Linked DNA regions of Homo sapiens: region 1 is linked to region 2. The links are contacts of gene promoters, found by promoter capture Hi-C in blood cells and fetal thymus (Javierre and others, 2016). All regions are on one chromosome and are shown on one strand. Each heading gives the region's core, a stretch centred on a gene start or on the middle of the fragment in contact. The rest is flanking DNA. Distances are from core to core; before and after follow the strand shown.

Region 1 (3,459 bases), core at 664-3,163, 51 kb after region 2:
CTACCAAAAATACAAAATTAGCTGGGTGTGGTGGCACATGCCTGTAATCTCTGCTACTTGGGAGGCTGAGGCAGGAGAATCACTTGAACCCAGGAGGCGGAGGTTGCGCTGAGCCGAGATGGCGCCATTGCACTAGAGCCTGGACAAGACCGAAACTCCATCTCCAAAAAAAAAAGAAAACAGAAAAAAACAAAAACTAAACACGTTATCACCTTAGATGTCAGGCTTACTATGTAACGTGTCTATGTGTGTTGCTTATATATTACTTGCTGAGCAAGGCAGATATCTAAAATAAAAAGCAAAAATGTTACATGTGAAATGAGGGAGGAGGGATATTTCTACTGCCCTTCCAAGAGCCCAAAACACTGTACTAGATACCCAATGTAAACGAAATCTAAAGAACTCTTCATTTTCACATTACCTTCAAACTTTACAGGCGGAGCATATTTTTCTAGCAATCTTTAGTCAGCAAAAATCAATCATTAAGCAAATACTTATGAAATATTTACTATTAAGTGTTATGAAGATTTTTAAAGAGATGACACCATTTTTAAAAGGCAAATAAAAAACCACTAATTAGGTATAAAAATAAATATTTCCATTTTAGACCTTTTCAAAATTAACTTTCTACTATAAATCATATGTTGTCTTCTTGGGTCCACTGCTGGGCCATGACATTACTTTATGTGCTGTAACTTCATGTAAATTTCCTAAGGGGCTAGAAAGGCAAACCCTGTATTTAAGCAACCAATATATTTTTAATGTAACAAAATGTTAGTGTAAACCATATGAAACTGTCAATACTTAACCATTTCTGACCTACAAGAATGGAAATTTCTTATGGCTCAAGTCTTTAAAAATCACCTTACAAGCTTAATAAAGCTCTCTCTTGGATCATTTTTGTTCTAAATTTATTACTAAGGGCAAAGTCACCTTTTCTTTCCTTCAAAGGATTCCTAGAGCTGCAGAAGAATGTTGTGAGTCTGGCACAAAACTGACCAAACCCTCTGAATACATTTGGAAAAACAAAAAATGAAACTGGTTATCAGCTTCCCAACCTCCAGACTAACCTTGGACAAGCTAATAAAGTATTCACACAGTTAAGAAGAGGACACAAACCGTTTTGTGACTCTGAAATAATCTGTTTAAAAAGTATGATGGTAGAGCTCCCGGGCTGGTGAATCTATTGATGGGCTGGAAATGTGGCATGCTCAAAGAAGTCATGGAAGCTCTACTTTCCAAGCCCCTTCCCTCACCCCGACCTTGCCTCATGCATCTCTTTCATTTGGCAGTTCCTGACTTGTATCCTTTATAATAAACCAGTAAACAATCGAGCCTGACCATCTCTAAGTATGATTGAAGAATGACAGTTTACCTCTGCTATTTTGCACAATCCCAGAAAAATTTTAAGAAAAAGTGTTTATTGACCAAAAAATTACATTTCATAACTAAGGCGATCAGATATGAAGCAACCTAAAAGGATTACCACCCACACCCCCCCACCGGTATAAGGGAAAAATAGTGCAGGGAAGCAGATGTAGAAAACATAATTTAAAAATGTAAAAGTAAGCCTGCGCAGTGTCTCACGCCTATAATCTCAGCACTTTGGGAGGCCGAGGCGGGTGTTCACTTGAAGCCAGAAGTTCGAGACCAGCCTGGCCAACATCACAAAACACCATCTCTACTAAAAATAAAAAAATTAGCTGGGCATTGTGGCTCACACCTGTAATTCCAGCTACTCAGAGGCCAAGGCACGACAATCACTTAAAATCGGGAGGTGGAGGTTGCAGTGAACTGAGATTGTGCCACTGTACTCCAACCTGAGCAACTTAGTGAGACTCCATCTCAAAAAATAAAAAATAAAAAATAAAAAAATTGCCTAAGAAAAAAACACAAAAAAGATAAAAACTCAGGGCTGGGCACAGTGGCTCACACCTGTAATCCCAGAACTTTGGGAGGCCAAGGCAGGCTGATCACCTGAGGTCGGGAGTTTGAGACCAGCCTGACCAACATGGAGAAACCCCGTCGCTACTGAAAATACAAAATCAGCCGGGTATGATGGCGCATGCCTGTAATCCCAGCTACTAGGGAGGCTGAGGCAGGAGAATCGCTTGAACCCGGGAGGTGGAGGTTGTAGTGAGCCGAGATCGCACCATTGCACTCCAGCCTGAGCAACAGGAGCAAAACTCCATCTCAAAAATAAAATAAAATAAAAAAATAAAACTCAGCCATAAAATGCAAGGACTTCCTACACCAAAAACTGCACAAACAAAAAATAGACAATTCACAGAACAAGGGGTTAAGAGCCAACCAACTAATTTAAGTGATGTTCCCATACTACTATTCATTAAGGAAATGAGAATTCATGAGACATCAGTTTCCATCCACCAAGTTTACAAAACTGTACATATGAACAATATAATACAGTCACTTAATGTATGAAAAAGATACCTCCAGTGTTAATAAAAGTATAAAGTAATTCTGAAGACATTTTTGGAGGATGAAATGGTACATTTTAATACTTTTAAAAACATTAACCTCTTAGGAATTATACTACCAGACTTGCATAAGAATATTAACTTTAACTCTGGCATTGTTTTCTTTTGCTAACAGCAAAAAATCTGGTAATTTCAATGTCTTTTAATTTGATATATCCACACCAAATAATTTTGAGGTGGTTACAAAAAATGAGGTAAATTTAAATGAGAAGACACGAAAATGTTTGCTGTCCTAATTAAGTGAATACAAAAGTCACAAATATATAACTTAATCCCAATTTTTTTTCAACTTAAATATGTCCTTTATACATGCAAATAAAAAACTTACAAGAGAATCAACTCTGGTAAATGAGATTTAAGATAGGGTGGGTGGACAAGTACACCTACATTAAGATGGAAGGTTTACTTTGTACTTTATATAATTTTTTACCATTTCATTTTTTACATTAAGCTTTATTACTTTAAATTTAAAGAAGGGGAAGAGGCTTTCGAAACGTTACCTGGGAAAGCACTAACTCCGAATTTCTAAACACTCTACGTAATATGGATAAATCCTTAATAAACGGTGACAAAAAAACAAAATCCTATGGGTGGCAAGATTATGCTTAAACTTTTTCCTTATATTAATTTTTAAATTTTTCAAAAGTGAAAAAAAATCACATTTTAATTTCAGATAATGACTTACAAAATTCTAGAGAGCAAATTTGACCAGAGCTGAATCATAAAACATAACGTGAAATTTAAAAAAAACTCTAGATTCAATTTCTAAATCATTCAATCTCTAACACCAATGTCTTCTTCACAAAAGCGGAGGCAGACCACAGGGGTGAGCCAGACTGTTCAGGAACAGGGAAGGACCCTCCTGGACAGGAATGGAAAAAGTACACTGTAACAACACCCTCACCACCCCACCAAGAGTAGTTTTCCCTTTAATCTGAGACTTGACGCTACCAATTTTAAG
Region 2 (3,566 bases), core at 217-2,716:
ACCATAAGCAGAACACAATATGTGCATAATCTCTACGTTCACAAAAACTCGGCAAGGTAGTTATCATTACCTTCATTTTACAAATGAGGAAGAAACTCAATCAGAAATAACTTTTCCAAGTCACAGTATTAGTAAGTGACAGAGCCAGGTTACCTCCAGTTTGATCTGCCACCAAAAAAAGAGCTATCTCCAGCTCAACAAAATGTCTTGCTGTGTTGCTACTCCCAATTTCCTGAGTCTGGGTTTTGTAAAGTCTCAAAGCTAATTAGAGTCTACTGTAAATCTATTCCTCCAGAAACTGCATTACACAGTTTGTACATACCAAAAATATGCATAATAAATTTTTCCAGATAGCATTCTAGCTTGTTGATGCCAATTTGGTCCCAAGGTCTTATGCCTCACTTGATTATTTATTTTGTAATTGTTGGGTAAAAACCAGATAAAAGAGAGGCAAAAGAGGAAGTTATAAACTTAATGCTAGTGTCTTAGTGCTGGATGTCACCTTAAATCATGTGTTGACAATAAATTACATCACAAAAACCTTAGCGCTAGAAGAGCTCTTGGATTATCAAATGCAAACTGCTTTTACAGATGAGGAAAACAAACCCAAAAATTTTGCATATTTGTTTAATAACTAACAAACTCATCAAAGCAGAATTGCATTGCAATGTAAACGGATATTTAACACTGTAAATTCTGAGTGGGAAGTAACTCCAAACTTATTTTGATCATGCAAACGTTGCATTGTAAAATTCCATTATTGTCTCCATTATTTTTTTCTTCTCAAGCATTTATGTAGGGATGTATGAAACTGATGTCCACGTAAGGGCAAAATCCAGCCCTACTTTTTATTTTGGGTGAGGAGGAAAACTTTTAAATAGCCCTTTTCAGTTGTAGGATCTTGACATTCCATGTTCAGAATATGAACTGTCTTTAATCCCATTCTACAAAACGAAAACCCAAATATTCACAAAGTCTTGTCAAGTCACATCCTTAAATGAAGTTCTTTTACATTAAAAAATGCTACCGAGCAATCCCTGAAACACAGTGTGGTTGGTTTCATTTGTTTTTCTGGGCATCTCGTTTCCTACACTGGGTTACAACATATTTGTTTGGGTTCGTGGTGGAAATGTCACAGCATGTTTAACTACATTCATTACCCTTGACAATTATTAACATAAAATAAAGGCAAAACGAGGTGCTAAGATGTAGGGGGAAAAAATCGGTCTGAGTAAGGCTGCCCATGCCCTTCCCTGCAAGAATTTCCAAATACCCACCGCCCAGGAGCAAAGGACAGAAAACACAGAGAAGCCCCACCCCTACACCCAGAAATAAAGAGATCCGCCCACCCTTCAACCAACCCGAAGTCGCTTTCTCCGCTCTGTCCACTGCTTGAGCGACTTTCCTTCTCCTCCGCGTCCCCTTTTACGACAGTTTTCCGGCCTAGTTTGCGGCTGCTCCTGCCGTGTTGCGTAGGGCGCCTGTGCTTGAGGTTGGGGGTTGCGTCGCTCTCTGGTAAAGGCGTGCAGGTGTTGGCCGCGGCCTCTGAGCTGGGATGAGCCGTGCTCCCGGTGGAAGCAAGGGAGCCCAGCCGGAGCCATGGTGAGTGCGGCCTTCCGGTCTTCTTGGCGACCTCCGGCCCAGGCCTCAACCTCAGCTCCCCGCCTCGGAGGTGTGGAGTTGAAGTTGTGCTCCTTAGTGCGACTGCGGGCGGGAGGTTTCGGTTATTGGGGAGTCACACTCACCAGGACACAACCCTGTTGGCTCGCTCTCTTGGGGGTTTGTGTTTTTACATCGTCTTTCTGCACGGTTCTCCAGCTTCTTGTCCGCACGGGCTCTGCAGGTGTTGCTTGCCTGGAACTCCTGTAAGGTCAGAGGCTGTCATGGACTCGGAGATTAGTGGAAACGTATTTGATTATAAGTGCCCTTGCCCTAACACATCTTCACAGCACTAGCTCCACTTTGCTATGTCCTTCTCTTTGGCTTTTGCTGACAGATGTCTTCTCCATGCTTCCTGAACATATTTGGGCCTGTCTTGTTAGGAAACAACAGGGCAGTGCCAAAGGTATTAGTCTCCTAGTTTAGCCCACGTTTAGCCTCGAAAATGCGTTGTTAGAATTTTACAGGAGCCGTCTGTAAACAGTTTTTCCTTCTGTAGCAGAAACCTTATTTCCACATTTTTTTTTTTTTTTTTGAGACAGAGTCTTGCTCGGTCGCCTAGGCTGGAGTGCAGTGGCACAATCTTGGCTCACTACAAGCTCCGCCTCCCGGGTTCGCCATTCTCCTGCCTCAGCCTCCCAAGTAGCTGGGATTACAGGCGCCCACCACCACGCCCAGCTAATTTTTTTTTTTTTTGTATTTTTAGTAGAGACGGGGTTTCACCATGGTAGCCAGGATGGTCTCGATCTCCCGACCTAGTGATACGCCCGCCTCGCCTCCCAAAATGCTGGAATTACAGGCGTGAGCCACCGCGCCTGGCCTATTTCCACTACTTTTGATTGAACTTTAATGTGACTTAATTTGTCTGGTGATGAAAGAAGTTTTCAAAGGGAGGGAATCATCTTTTTCACTATTGTAAAGATAAATAAGCAAGTCGAACTTGCCCTCTTTCCCATATGATGAATCCTGTAACTTTAATGCATTCAGCATAACAGATGCAGTAGTTTTAAAGATTACTGGACAGAATATTTCCGCCTTAAAAGTTGTTTCTCTGCCAGGCATGGTGGCTTATGCCTATAATCTTAGCACTTTGGGAGGCCAAGGTGGGAGGATTGCTTGAGGCCAGGAGTTCAAGACCAGCCTAAGCAACATAGCAAGACTCCGTCTCTTAAAAAAAAAAAAAAAAAAAGAAAAAAAAAAGTTGTTTCTCCTATTAAAATGCAGTTTGTAATGAGTTGGGGATGGAAGAATGGGCAAAATGAGAAAGGGTGGGAATTAGAGAAGTAAATATTTACTCTTCTCCCCCTTACCAGGCCAGTACAGTGGTAGCAGTTGGACTGACCATTGCTGCTGCAGGATTTGCAGGTTTGTTTATGGTTTGGGGATGGAAGTGAAGTCGGGGAGATTGGAGATTTAGTTTACTTATTCTGTTGCTTTTGGTTTTAGGCCGTTACGTTTTGCAAGCCATGAAGCATATGGAGCCTCAAGTAAAACAAGTTTTTCAAAGCCTACCAAAATCTGTAAGACTTTGTTAATTCTTTGCTGCTTCTATTTGAAACCTAGAGCCACACTTAGGGAAGGGTAAATTTCCAAATATCCATGAAGTTCTAAGTGATTGCTTTGGACCCATTCTCCTGCTTCCTGCAAGGAGAGTATAGAAGTTCTGAACTTTGTGATGGTGCTACCCTGAAACATCAGATGTTATATGTGACAGAGTTGGATGGGGTTTTGACAATTCTAGTACCCCACTAGACCCAAGTTTCACTTTTTCACATACCATCACCTTCAGCATCATCTGTACATATTCTTGTTTTCCTTCATCTGCTCTGCATCGCACACACAGAGGTATATGATTCTAAAGTGATCCGATCTGACCATGTGGCCCTGGCACTCCCAAACATCATACA

Evidence for each region. Contacts are between HindIII fragments. The CHiCAGO score rates a contact against its expected background, and 5 or more counts as called.
Region 1: a fragment that was not itself captured here is called in contact with the fragment with the promoter of DNAJC19 in region 2 in 4 of 17 cell types (non-activated CD4 T cells, naive CD4 T cells, naive CD8 T cells and 1 more); the score reaches 5.5 in non-activated CD4 T cells.

What each region holds. Positions count from the first base shown.
Region 1 is chr3:180,937,302-180,940,760 of GRCh38, reverse strand. The region is part of intron 3 of FXR1 (FMR1 autosomal homolog 1); the gene reads right to left. Among named protein-coding and RNA genes, the nearest start is that of FXR1, 26 kb to the right of the region's middle. The HindIII fragment of the contact is 2,077 bases long and covers 875-2,951 here.
Region 2 is chr3:180,987,636-180,991,201 of GRCh38, reverse strand. DNAJC19 (DnaJ heat shock protein family (Hsp40) member C19) reads left to right here and starts at 1,466. Exons shown (of 6, transcript NM_145261.4): 1 at 1,466-1,602; 2 at 2,973-3,024; 3 at 3,106-3,179. The coding sequence starts at 1,600. The HindIII fragment of the contact is 8,604 bases long and covers 1-3,566 here.